Linked DNA regions of Homo sapiens: region 1 is linked to region 2. Evidence: promoter capture Hi-C in human tissues and cell types (Jung and others, 2019). All regions are on one chromosome and are shown on one strand. The core of a region is centred on a gene start or on the middle of the fragment in contact, and the rest is flanking DNA. Distances in the headings are between cores, read along the strand shown.

Region 1 (5,955 bases), core at 410-2,909, 48 kb after region 2:
CCAGCTGCAGAGGACTTGGAGTCGCTGAGGGCTGCAGGCTGCAGGAGGCAACCTGGCTGCGGGGTGAGGGTGGGAATCTTTAGGGGATAAGAACTGGCCCCAGGCTGGGCGCGGTGGCTCACTCCTGTAATCCCAACACTTTGGGAGGCCAACACAGACAGATCATGAGGTCAAGAGATCGAGACGATCCCGGCCAACATGGTGAAACCCCGTCTCTACTAAAAATACAAAAATTAGCTGGGCGTGGTGGCATGCACCTGTAGTCCCAGCTACTCGGGAGGATGAGGTAGGAGGATTGCTTGAGCCCAGGAGGCAGAGGTTGCAGTGAGCTGATATCGCACCACTGTACTCCAGCCTGGGTGACAGAGCAAGACCCTGTCTCAGAAAAAAAAAAAAAGGATCGGCCCTGGGTTCGGTGGCTCACACCGTAATCCCAGCACTTTGGGAGGGCGAGGCAGGTGGATCACTTGAGGTCAGGATTTCTCAAGACCAGCCCGGCCAACATGGTGAAACCCCATCTCTACTGAAAATACAAAAATTAGCCAGGCATAGTGGCACACGCCTGTAGTCCCAGCTACTCAGGAGGCTAAGGCAGGAGAATCACTTGAACCTGGGAGATGGAGCTTGCAGGGAGCCAAGATCGCTCTACTACACTCCAGCCTGGGCGACAAAGTGAGACTCTGTCTCAAAATAAAAGAAAAAAAAGAAAAGAAGGAACTGACCCTGGCTGGAGGGAGAGGTGACTGGGACCTCCCGGGGCTACCTCAATGTCAGGAGAGCACTCCTGGAGACCCAAAGCTTCCAGTTAGGGATTCAAGAAGATAGACTGGGGCGCGGGCAATAGGGATGCAGGCAAGGAGCTTCTCCTTGGAACGGGAGCCCTGAGACCCCCGGGGGAAAATCTGGTCACTCACGTATTCATTCAGCACACATTTATGGCTACAGGCTCTGTGCCTTCCCATGGAGAGACAGAAGAAAGGGAGCCAGTCCCTGTCCTCACGGAGCTCACCTCACCCAAACACACACTCTCTAGAAGGAAATTCTGGGGGTCTTACGGGCCAAAAGGAAGGGGCATTTCCCTCCAGGTCCTCTGGAGTCCCCTGACAAAGGGCCCTCCAGGCCTCATCCCTGACTCACTGGGGCTTCCAAAGTCTCCTCCGGCTCAGGGAGTATCTATCCCTGGCCCCAGCCCCCAGCCCAGTTCCACCCCACCCCCAATCAGGCAAGGAGGTCTTTCAAAAGCTCCTCTGATCTCTGACAGGGACAATGTTGGCACACAGGTTTCTTCACAGGTGTAACACCTGGGCGGGGGCATTTGCATGGGTTTTGCAAAAGCTGGGCCTGAGGCTCACCAGTGCCCAGTTGCTCTCTCTTCCCAGCCCTCGCAGAGCAGACCTCCTGCTCCTTCTCACCTGCCCCACCTTGGGCCAGGTCTCTAACCTTTGCACTGCAGAGAACCCCAGGGCCTCTTTTCCTGCTTTCGCCCAAAGAGTTCCCAGGAGGAAAGCCAGAACAGTGCCAACTGCGGCTTCCAGTCAGCAAGGCAGAGCCTGGGGACTATTGGGTTCAGCACAAAAGTGACCCCTGACAGCATTGAGGGAGATATGTCAGCCTGCTGTGAGCCCAGGACTCCAGGTGGGAACCAGGTAGCTCTGGCTCTGCCCAATTCCAGCTGCTCCAGTGCCTGGAAGGTAGTAAACACGCCCTCAATATTTAGTGAATGGATGAATGAGGGTTTTCAATTCATCAGCCATTGCGAAACTGTAGGCCTAGGAACAGACAAAAGGCCTGGCCCTACCCTTGGAAAGCCCGACTGAACCCAGCAGGGGAGAGCCAGAACTACAAAGCCTGTTTCAGGAGTGAGAGAAAAAATATTCATCTAACTGCCGTGGTGTGAAAGTCTGCCTTGTGTCAAAGAACCCTGCTAAGCAAGCAACTTTACATCATCTCGGTTTAGCATAAGTCCCCTGTGACATGGGTCCTCTCAGTCCCACTTTAGAGATGAGGAAACTGAGGCTCAGAAAGGTTCAGTGACTTTTGCTTAAGGTCACAAGGCTGGGATGGGGTGCAGCCAGGACTCCAACCTGGAAGACTTTGTAATAAATTGAGCAAGAATGATGTGGTGGCATCCCGGGTCCCTTTTCCCCCAGCTGGGATCTGGTGACTGTGTCCTCCTTAAATCCCTCTTTAGTTTTCTTATCTGCAAATAGAAGTAATAATAATATCTACATTGTAAAGAGATTGGGAGGATCAAATGAAACTTAAGACATGTAGAATAGCCAGGCAGGCCCCTGTAGTCCCAGCTACTCTGAGAGGCTGAGGCAGAAGGATTGCTTGAGCCTAGAAGCTCCAAAACCATCCTAGGCACATAGGGAGACCCTTTCTCAAAAAAAAAGTAAACAGCAGGGTGCGGTGGCTCACACCTGTAATCCCAGCACTTTGGGAGGCCAAGGCAGGTGGATCACTTGAGCTCAGGAGCTCCAGACCAGCCTGGCCAAGATGGCGAAACCCTGTCTCTACTAAAAATACAAAAATTAGCTGGGTGTGATGGCACGCATGTGCCTGTGGTCCCAGCTACTTGCTGGGAGGCTGAGGTGGGAGAATCACTTGAACCCAGGGTGGGGGGAGGGGGGTGGCAGTGGAGGTTGCAGGAGATGAGATCGCACCACTGCACTACAGCCTGGGCAACAGAGCAAGACTCTGTCTCAAAAACAAACAAACAAAAAGACACGTAAAATGCTTAGAATGATGCTAGCACATGCAACACCTACATTAGCATTGCCTATTATTATTATTATTAATTGAAATTCATATCACTTATTCATTCAACAAACGTTTGAGTACCAGGATTCAGCCTCCAGCAGCCGATCAGGACACAAATACGAAGTGGGTAGTCAGTGCTATAATACTAAGAAGTGGGCCAGTGAGGGACAATAGCAGAGGGGAGGCTTCCAGCCTTGGGATGTGGGAAGAGGTCATCAAAGCTTCCCGAGGACAGCCAGTCAATTCTCCAACCAGAAGCAGAAGTAATATTTTTAACATGCAAATCTGATCAGCTGAGGCTGTGGTGAACCCTCAAATAGCATGGGGGCGGGGCCCCGATGCCCTAAGGATGAAGTCCAAAGACTCCCCTATTCCACAGGGGATCCTACAGGCTCTGGCCATTTGCGCCTCTGCTTCCAAGGCTCTGACCCCATCCCATCCTGGCCTGTTTTCCTTTTGCCCAAAGCTCAATCCCTTCCAGTTCCAGGGCCTCTGCTCCTGTTGCCCCCTCTGCCAGGCCCCCAGGCACCACCTCTCCTCCTGCAGGGTCTGAGTGCTCAGGTGAGGAGAGGTCTCTGCTCCGCACTCACACTGCACTTGCACAATCCTCTGGGAACTTGCCTCGCCTTGTTGAACACCTCTGCCCCCACAAGACAGAACATTCCAAGAAGATAGGGACCCAGGAGGAGGGAATCGTGTGCGTGGGGGAGGCGCTGGGACAGCCTGCAGGGATCCCAGGCACCTTGGCGAACTCTTGTCATAGACTTGGCTCTGGATCTGCCCTCTCTAGGGAGATATCAAACCAGGAAGCCCAGGACCCAAAACCTTTGCGATCAGGGGTCTGCCAGTTAACCCCTGAGTGCTGGCTGCCTCAGGCCCCGAGGGTGGGGTCCTCCAGTTCCCAGTGGCCTCTCAGTTGGGTCACCACCACACCACTCAAGCCACCAAGCCAACAAATCAAGACTTCTACCATCATCGCGACGGGAAACAAAAACTAACTTCTCAGGAAATCCTCTTGGAGCAAACTGGTGCAGTGGAGAGAGCTGACCTTGGTCTGACATGAAAAGCGGTTGTGCATAGTAAGTGCTCAATAAATATTAGCTGCTATTATCAATGATAATAATAAAGTACCTGGCACATAGTAGGTGTTCAGTAAATGATAGTTCTCTGGTCCCAGGGGGACAGAAATTAGAGGCAGTCAGCAGCCCCTCCCCACCTTACTCCCAAGGTCCTCCACTTGTACACAGGGATTCAGACCTATGGATCACCAAATCCAAACCCTTCAGTTGCTAGGTAGGGAAACAGGCCTAGAGGAGAAGGACTGGCCCAAAGTAAGAAGCAGTGTCGGCCGGACGCGGTGGCTCACACCTGTAATCCCAATACTTTGGGAGGCCAAGGCGGGCGGATCACAAGTTCAGGAGTTCAAGACCAGCCTGGCCAATATGGTAAAACCCCATCTCTACTAAAAATACAAAAATTAGCCGGGTGTGGTGGTGGCGCCTGTAATCCCAGCTACTCGGGAGGCTGAGGCAGGAGAATTGCTTGGACCTGGGAGGCAGAGGTTGCAGTGAGCCGAGATCACACCATGCACTCCAGACTGGGCGACAAAGCGAGACTCCATCTCAAAAAAAAAAAAAAAAGAAGCAGTGTCTGTCCCTAGAACCTGGGTCTCCTGGGCCAATGCCTCATCCTCATAATAAACTTTCCAGCCTTAGGAGGGAGGTTTTCAGTGCCTAGATTCAGGCAGACATGTTTCCTCCAAAGGACAGCTTTGGAAGGATGGGAGCTCAGGCCTTCTCAGGAGGGCGAGAGGGGTTATTGGGAAGGCCAAGGTTTATCTCTGCAGGAGGAAGTCTCAGCTGCTTGACTTGATGGAATCCCCAAGAGCCTGCTCTCCCGCAGGTCAGGCAGGAAGGGGCAGAGGTCACAGGGGAGGCCTGTCCTGGCCCCTGGTTCCCTGAGTCTTTGCTATCTGTGGGCCTCAGCTGGCACTCAGCCAACAGGCCCCTGGCATTAAGATGACAAGGGCTACTGTGGCCTCTTGGCTTCTCCCTGTTTCTCCCTAGAGACACTCAGCCCCAGCACTGGCCGGATCTCCCTGGCCACCTTCCCTGAAGGCCCCTTTCCCCCTACTTTCATGTCTCAACCCATCCCCACAGCTCAGTGAGACCCTGCACCCTGCACCCTGCACCTTGGATTCATGCCAGGCCTGAGTGACCCACGGCCCATGCCTTTTCTGCTTGGTCCCATTGCCTCACGGGTGCCCCCAAGTTCTGCTTCCTGTCTGTGCCACCGTTAAGCCTCTTTCCTAGTGATGACTCCCGCGACAGCCTCTTTCCGGAGGAGGCGCATTCCTTAAGGGCCTGGTGGGGATGGTGATGACAGGGCCAAAGGACAGCTCCCAAAGCTGGAAAGCCAGCCACTGCGGGGGGCCTGGAGGTGCTGTCAGCAAGGGAAGCTGCCCGGCCCCTCTTGCTAGCAGCCAACTCAGCCTGAGCACCTGCTCTGCAGGAAATAGAAGGGGACTTTGCTGGAAATCTGCCTTTAATCTTGGCTTCCTGTTTTCTGCCCTGGGGGACTGCCCAGACGGTCTGAGTTTCAAGCTATTTCACACCAGCTTCTCTAAACTGTCATCTCTGTGCAAAGAGGCTGGGGGAGGGGAGGAGGCTGGGTGGAGAGAGGAGCGGCCCTTCCCTTCCCAGGGGACCCCATAAGGGTATAAATGCACATACATGTGCATAAGCTCTGGACTGCTGGAGGCCAACCCAACTTTGCATGGAGCTATCCCATTTGGCACTTGTATCATCAAAATGCAGCCAGAAGCTTCTCTCTGGTTCCCCACATCCAGGGGTGGGTCTCCAACCTCTCCTCTCTTCTCCATTCCCCTGGGGCAGGCCCAACAGCCAGGCAAGAGTGGCCCAGCCTCAGAGAGCTAGTGTTCAGTTCCCAACACTGCCTTGACTCCACATTTCACAGGCATCCCAAGCTCATTTTGTCCAAAACCAAACTCCTGAGTGTTCCCCCAGCCTGGCACTCTCCCCAGGTTCTCCCATCTCGCACCATCTCCCCAGGTGCTCCAGCCACACCTGAGGACTGAGGAGTCATGCCTGATTTCTCCTGTGGCCTCACTCCCCACAAACAACCCCTCACGGAGAGCTGCCCTGGGACTTGCCTTTGTCCATTCACTTCCCT
Region 2 (6,747 bases), core at 41-2,540:
CAGGAATGGATCTAAACTGAAAGGAAACTGAGGCAATACTTTCTCTGTAAGCTTGACCTAAAAAGGGTGTTTAAATTCATAAACCACTCTCTCCAACATATCAGGCATCTCTGCCTGTTACCCTGGACTAGAGGTCAGTAGACCCAACATTCTAGTCAAAGTGATCTTGGACTGCACATTTTACTTTTCTGGGGTCCAATTTCAACATCTGAGAGAGGGTAAGACAAGATCTCTCAGTTCAGAGTACCCAGCTGGATCCAGAGGGAAGAGAAAACCCAGATCTGCTGTGGGGAACCTGACAGTCTTACCAGTTAGGCTCCCCACAGGAGAACCTCACAAGACAGGGAGATGGATGGTTCCTACCACAAGTATTATAGTGGAGGGAGGCTTCCTGGAGGGGCTAAATATCAAAGCACACTAGATCCCTGAGTCAACAGGGGACAGTGCCAGGCTTTGGTGTGCTATGGTGTCCCCTTCTGCACAGTGGGTATCCCAAGGACCTGCAGCCTTTGTAAGATGGTAGGAGGCCAAGGGAGATGTGACTGGTGAGTTTTTAGGGACTGGTATTTCCAGCTCCCTGCAGTTGGCAATCTGTCACCCTGATTGTCTCCCAGCAAAGGACAAAGAAGATGGTCAATGAGATAGGAAAGGCCTGGGACTCCTGCACAGATCTGCCTCTATTGTCCCAGCTGTCTAGGACATCTCAGCACTGACAAGCCACCCTTAGGAGGGTAAAATCTGCCAGGGGTAGCTTCTTAGGCTAGGGCAGGGTACAGCTGGTAAGAACCCAGCCCACCCCCTCCATCCACCCTGTCCACCCAAGGAGAAGCCCCTGTCATCAGAAAGCCTGAGGGAGGGGCTGCACATATTCCAGCCTGCCAGGTGGCCTTGATGGGGAAGCCCCAGGGTAGGCAGGGAGACACTCACTAGGGGATGGAGCTGGAGCCTGGGTCCTGAAGTCCTGAATGAGATGCCATCTGTATCTAGAGGTCTGGTACCAGCTGTGGGACCATGGGCAAGTCCTCCTCTTCCCCTGGCCTCAGTTTCCCCACTAGGGGGCTAGACTGCCTGGTCACTAAAAACACTCTGAGCCTCCCTTTTTGGAGGTGCTAGACAGGTAGCTACCTAAGAAGTCCTGGAGGCACCAAAATGTTCCTTTTATTGGGAGAGAAAGGGCAAGCCAGAAGTCCCCCAGCAACTCACCTGAGGTACTGAGCTGAGCTGGGAAGGGTGGACTCTTGGAGCCTGGGATCACAAGGATCAGGGAAGGTTCCAAGGAACTGTCACCTTCAGGGTGAGGGTGAAGGCACTGCCACCTTTATAGGCGGGCTTGTACGTGTGGCCACGCCTCCTTCCCTGGAGCGAGCTGAGATGGAGGGAGAAGCAGCCTGAACCGGGCTGGTCTCTCTGGGATTGGAGAGAAAGGTGGCGGAGGGCGGCGGGGGTGGGGGGTCGGGTGGGCAAGAACCCACTATGGGACACATCTCGGTGCCTGTACATAGAGGGGTGAGGGCTGGGAACACCTGGAAGTCCCAATTCCAAGGCGTCCCAAGGGCAGTGCAGAACCCAGCCGAGGAGGGGGCTTGAGGGAGAAGTCCCAGGACAGCCCGAAGAGAGGGTACGGGAAGCTCCATCCTGGGGCGCGGGGACTCCTCTTCGTCATTTTTGCACCCACTGGAACGCTGGGCGTGCAGATGCCTCCCCAGCGCTACAGCCTACCAGGACTCGGCAGGCGGGGGCGGGGCTGCCCCGTGGTGACCTCCTTCCCGGGGTTACTGAGTCCCGGCTCGCGTGAGAAGCGCTGCGACCCCAGCCCTGAGGTCACGGGGGCCGGAAGGCCAGAGGCGCCGCGGGGCTGGACCTGTCCCCCAGAGCCCGGGCGACTAGCTGAGGTTCGCGCCTCTTGATTGAAGGATCGGAATGGATGGCGAAGGGGCAGGCTCGCTGAGCGCTCACTAGCGGCTCCTCGCAGCCTCTAGGATCGCCTTAGTGCTGATTGCAACGCGCGGTCCCTCCAGCCAGGACCCACCGGCCCTTGAGGGTCCCTCTTGGCTCCCGGGGTGGCTAGTGCTTTGATTGGCAGAGCACAGAAATCCGGCGGCGGGGGGCCACGGAAAGACTCGGGCCCAGGGACCACGGAGGGGGCACCTGGCGCGGAGCCCCCACCCTACCCCCGGCTAGCTTGCGTGCGCCGGCGACATCCCTCTAGGGGGCAGAGGTCAGGCGGCCCGTCCCCGCCCCACCTGGCCCGGAGGCGCGGTGCCCAGGCGTTGCGTGAGAAGGACCGGAGGCCCGCGCAGCCACCCAGCCGACCCATTCCCCGGCCCGGCGCGGGGGCTCGCAGTCACGCGAGGGGGGAGGGAGTCGGGGCGGGGCTCTTAAAGGGCCAGCCTCGCGCGCGGCGTGGGGTTGGGGTGGAGGGAGAGGAACTGTCGAAGGGTGGCGGGTGCGCGATTGAATAAGGGGATGCGGTGCAAAGGGTCTAGGTCTGCGTGTGGCTTCTGCCTGCGAGGAGAGGCAGCCTGCATGTGTCCGCATTTTCGGTCCACGCCTGTGGCACGACACGAAGCCCCAGTGCCATTTGGCATGGCCTAGCTGCCTGCCTCCGACGCTGTCCCGCCCTCCGGAACCTTCCTGTTACAGGGTTTCCAGGAAAAAAAAAGTTGTATTTGCGTGCCTAGCTCAACCTGGCCCCAGCTAACATCGTTACGCGCCATCCCCGACGTGCTCCCCAACCCGGTGGCACCACCATCCGTCGCTGGTCCAGGCCAGAAAATAATCCCCTCACCTCCCATTCCGGTCATATGCGGCCTCGTGCATTGCACAAATATTTACCAAGCAACTACTATGTGCCAGGAGCTGTTCGGAGGCGCTGGCGATTGACAGAGAAGGGAACACAGCTGACAGCACTCCTAATCTCGTGGAGTTTACATTCTGATGGAAGGAGACAAGTAATATGCCCCAAATCTAGAGAATGTGAGAGGGTAAAAAGTGCGGTTGAAAAAAATTAAACAGAAAAGGCGTACGGATTATGTGAGGGCAGATTGCAATTCAAAACAAGGGGGTCAGGGAAGGCCTTGCGGAGAGAGGCAGGAGTGTGGAGTCAAGAATCAATGTGCATAGATATCTGGATAAAAAGTGTACCTGGGCAGGTGCGGTGGCTCACGCCTGTAATCCCAGGACTTTGGAAGGCCGAGTCGGGAGGATCGCCTGAGGTCAGGAGTTCAAGACCAGCCTGGCCAATATGGCAAAACCCCATCTCTATCAAAAATACAAAAATTAGCCGGGCATGGTGTTGCTCACCTGTAATCCCAGATACTGGGGCGGTGAGGGGGGTTTGGGGGGAGTGGAGTCAGGCAGGAGAATTGCTTGAACCTGGGAGGCAGATGTTGCAGTGAGCTGAGATCACGCCACTGCACTCCAGCCTGGGTGACAGAGCGAGACTCCATCTCAAATAAAAGACTGCAACTGGCAGAGGGAATAAGCAAAATCAAAGCCTCCCGCCACCCCCCACCACAGTGGTTCTTGAAGGACCGAGCAGTACCAGGGATGTGCAGAGGTCATGTGACTGGGGAGTTCTCCTGGCATGTAGTCCAGGGGGATGGGATGCCCATGAGGCACAGCGCCCTGCCGCATGTGCAGGGAGCACCCCATTGAGAGACATGAGACTTCCTCTGTGCGAGATAGAGACATGGCTGGGGTGTAAGAGAAGCAAGGTCACTCGGGCTACTGTGCTAAGAATAGGAGGCACATTTCTCTGCTTGGCATCTGCTTTGGCATCTGTCCAGCTCCACTGCCACAACTCATCCAGGGCCCATCATTGCTCCCTGGAGCACTTAGCCTCCACCTAGGTTCCCATTTGCCTTTTGCTCCGTCCAATTACTTCTCCATCCTGTGGCACCCAGAGTGGTCCTGTCAAAAATGCAAAATCTCATTCCATCACCACCTTGCTTAAATTTCTTTGGTAGCTCCCACCACTCTGAAGGCAGGAATAAGAATCTTTAGCAGCTCTCCCTCTCCCTCTCCCTCTCCCTCTCCCTCCCTCTCCCTGTCCCCTCTTTCCACGGTCTCCCTCTGATGCCGAGCCAAAGCTGGACTGTACTGCTGCCATCTCGGCTCACTGCAACCTCCCTGCCTGATTCTCCTGCCTCAGCCTGCCGAGTGCCTGCGATTGCAGGCGCGCGCCGCCACGCCTGACTGGTTTTCGTATTTTTTTGGTGGAGACGGGGTTTCGCTGTGTTGGCCGGGCTGGTCTCCAGCTCCTAACAGGGAGTGATCCGCCAGCCTCGGCCTCCCGAGGTGCCGGGATTGCAGACGGATTCTGGTTCACTCAGTGCTCAATGGTGCCCAGGCTGGAGCGCAGTGGCGTGATCTCGGCTCGCTACAACCTCCACCTCCCACCCGCCTGCCTTGGCCTCCCAAAGTGCCGAGATTGCAGCCTCTGCCCGGCCGCCACCCCGTCTGGGAAGTGAGGAGCGTCTCTGCCTGGCCGCCCATCGTCTGGGACGTGAGGAGCCCCTCTGCCTGGCTGCCCAGTCTGGAAAGTGAGGAGCGTCTCTGCCCCACCGCCATCCCATCTAGGAAGTGAGGAGCGTCTCTGCCCGGCAGCCCATCGTCTGAGATGTGGGGAGCGCCTTTGCCCTGCTGCCCCGTCTGGGATGTGAGGAGCGCCTCTACCCAGCCGCGACCCCGTCTGGGAGGTGAGGAGCGTCTCTGCCCGGCCGCCCCGTCTGAGAATCAAGGAGACCCTCCGCCTGGCAACCGCCCCGTCTGAGAAGTGAGGAGCCCCTCCGCCCGGCAGCCACCCCGTCTGGGAAGTGAGGAGCGTCTCCGCCCGGCAGCCACCCCGTCCGGGAGGGAGGTGGGGGTCAGCCCCCGCCAGGCCAGCCGCCCCGTCCGGGAGGGAGGTGGGGGGGTCAGCCCCCCGCCCGGCCAGCCGCCCTGTCCGGGAGGGAGGTGGGGGGGTCAGCCCCCCGCCCGGCCAGCCGCCTCGTCCGGGAGGTGAGGGGCGCCTCTGCCCGGCCGCCCCTACTGGGAAGTGAGGAGCCCCTCTGCCCGGCCACCACCCCATCTGGGAGGTGTACCCAACAGCTCATTGAGAACGGGCCATGATGACAATGGCGGTTTTGTGGAATAGAAAGAGGGGAAAAGCGGGGAAAAGATTGAGAAATCGGATGGTTGCCGTGTCTGTGTAGAAAGAGGTAGACATGGGAGACTCTTCATTTTGTTCTGTACTAAGAAAAATTCTTCTGCCTTGTGATCCTGTTGATCTGTGACCTTACCCCCAACCCTGTGCCCTCTGAAACATGTGCTGTGTCCACTCAGGGTTAAAGGGATTAAGGGCAGTGCAAGTTGTGCTTTGTTAAACAGATGCTTGAAGGCAGCATGCTCGTTAAGAGTCATCACCACTCCCTAATCTCAAGTACCCAGGGACACAAACACTGCGGAAGGCCGCAGGGTCCTCTGCCTAGGAAAACCAGAGACCTTTTTTCACTTGTTTATCTGCTGACCTTCCCTCCACTATTGTCCTATGACCCTGCCAAATACCCCTCTGCGAGAAACACCCAAGAATGATCAATAAAAAAAAAAAAAAAAATAAGGACATGCTTGAAGCCTCCTCAAACCACGAGCAATAAATCCATCCTGCACTCTTGAAAAAAAAAAAAAAAGTATCTTTAGCAGAACCTACCAGGCCTGCCTGCCTCTAGTTCTAGTGTCCCCTACCTTGAGTCTCAGATAAAACATCACTTCCTCTGGGATGCCTTCCTGGATTCTCCCCCCAGAAAATTATGTTTCTCCTGGTCGCTGTTTCCAGCACTTCTCCACGGTAATTCTTAGGACACTGGATACTTGCTATAGCCCCGACCCAACCTGCCACTTCTTTCCGTATGCTCTAACAAGGAAAACCAACCTGCAGGAAATTGATCTGATAAGCCAAGTCCAGGCAAGATATTAATAACTGGTAAAGGAATTAGACACAGCTATACTATACACAGGCCAAATGGCAAGAGAGATGTTGAATCCAAAGTGCTCATGCTATAATGGTGGAATTTAGGCAACAGAACAGGCAGGAGACAAGGGAGGTATTGCTGGGCTTTCTCAGCACCCTTCCAATTATTCTACTCTCTGCATCTTTGATTCAGTCTGAGGAGCTTCATGGTACCCAAGAGAGGTCTGTCCTTCAATCCTAGTTGGAGCTAGAGCCACAGAGAACGAGCCTGTGTGGAAGCCATGGCAAGGAAGTGGAAAGCAAGGCACTCCTAGATCCTCCAACATGCTCTGCAGCACAACCTCTTCTTCAGCTTCCCAGGGTCCCCACCAATGCCCCAGCGCTGGAGAATCATGGCAGCCTGGTCACCAGGGCTGGAAGACCAACTAGTGCTAGGGCTCCCAACCAGGGACCCTTCTCTTGATAGAAAGTGCGTTGCTTTGCTTGCATTATCTAAGAGGCTCTTGACTCCTCAAAAACTCATTAGCTAATAAAACCAATTCGTCTCTCACTTCTTAGGTGGAGAGATGGGTGCCAGAAAAGAAAAGGCCCAAGTACGCATGGCAAATCAAAGCAGAGCCTAGAACTCCAGCTTCTTGCTTCTAGGCCAGGGCCCGTCTCACCATAACTTATCATCCCAGACTATGAGTGAAGCCCCAGGGGGCCAAAGGTAGACAGACTCAGCCCCTGGGCCAGGGCCCCTCACCTCTCCACACCCCTGGACTGGTGCACTGGGGTTACAAGAGATGTTGCACTTC

What was found. Contacts are between HindIII fragments. The study calls those that stand out against the background at their distance.
Region 1: a contact is called between a fragment that was not itself captured here and the fragment with the promoter of CYP1A1 in region 2, in 3 of the 25 tissues and cell types used here (aorta, mesendoderm cells and thymus).

The regions. Positions count from the first base shown.
Region 1 is chr15:74,772,193-74,778,147 of GRCh38, forward strand. No RefSeq gene overlaps it. Among named protein-coding and RNA genes, the nearest start is that of CSK, 6.9 kb to the right of the region's middle. RefSeq lists enhancers at 1-513, 1,470-2,047, 3,147-3,256, 3,277-3,346, 5,563-5,955. The HindIII fragment of the contact is 5,252 bases long and covers 1-4,285 here.
Region 2 is chr15:74,724,238-74,730,984 of GRCh38, forward strand. CYP1A1 (cytochrome P450 family 1 subfamily A member 1) reads right to left here and starts at 1,291. Exons shown (of 7, transcript NM_001319217.2): 1 at 1,204-1,291. RefSeq lists a promoter at 999-2,903, a cis regulatory region at 1,754-3,128, enhancers at 1,780-1,803, 1,836-3,035, 2,174-2,196, 2,271-2,285, 2,334-2,357 and 1 more and silencers at 1,848-2,128, 1,848-2,023, 1,868-1,947, 2,019-2,128, 2,128-2,287. The HindIII fragment of the contact is 9,362 bases long and covers 1-4,673 here.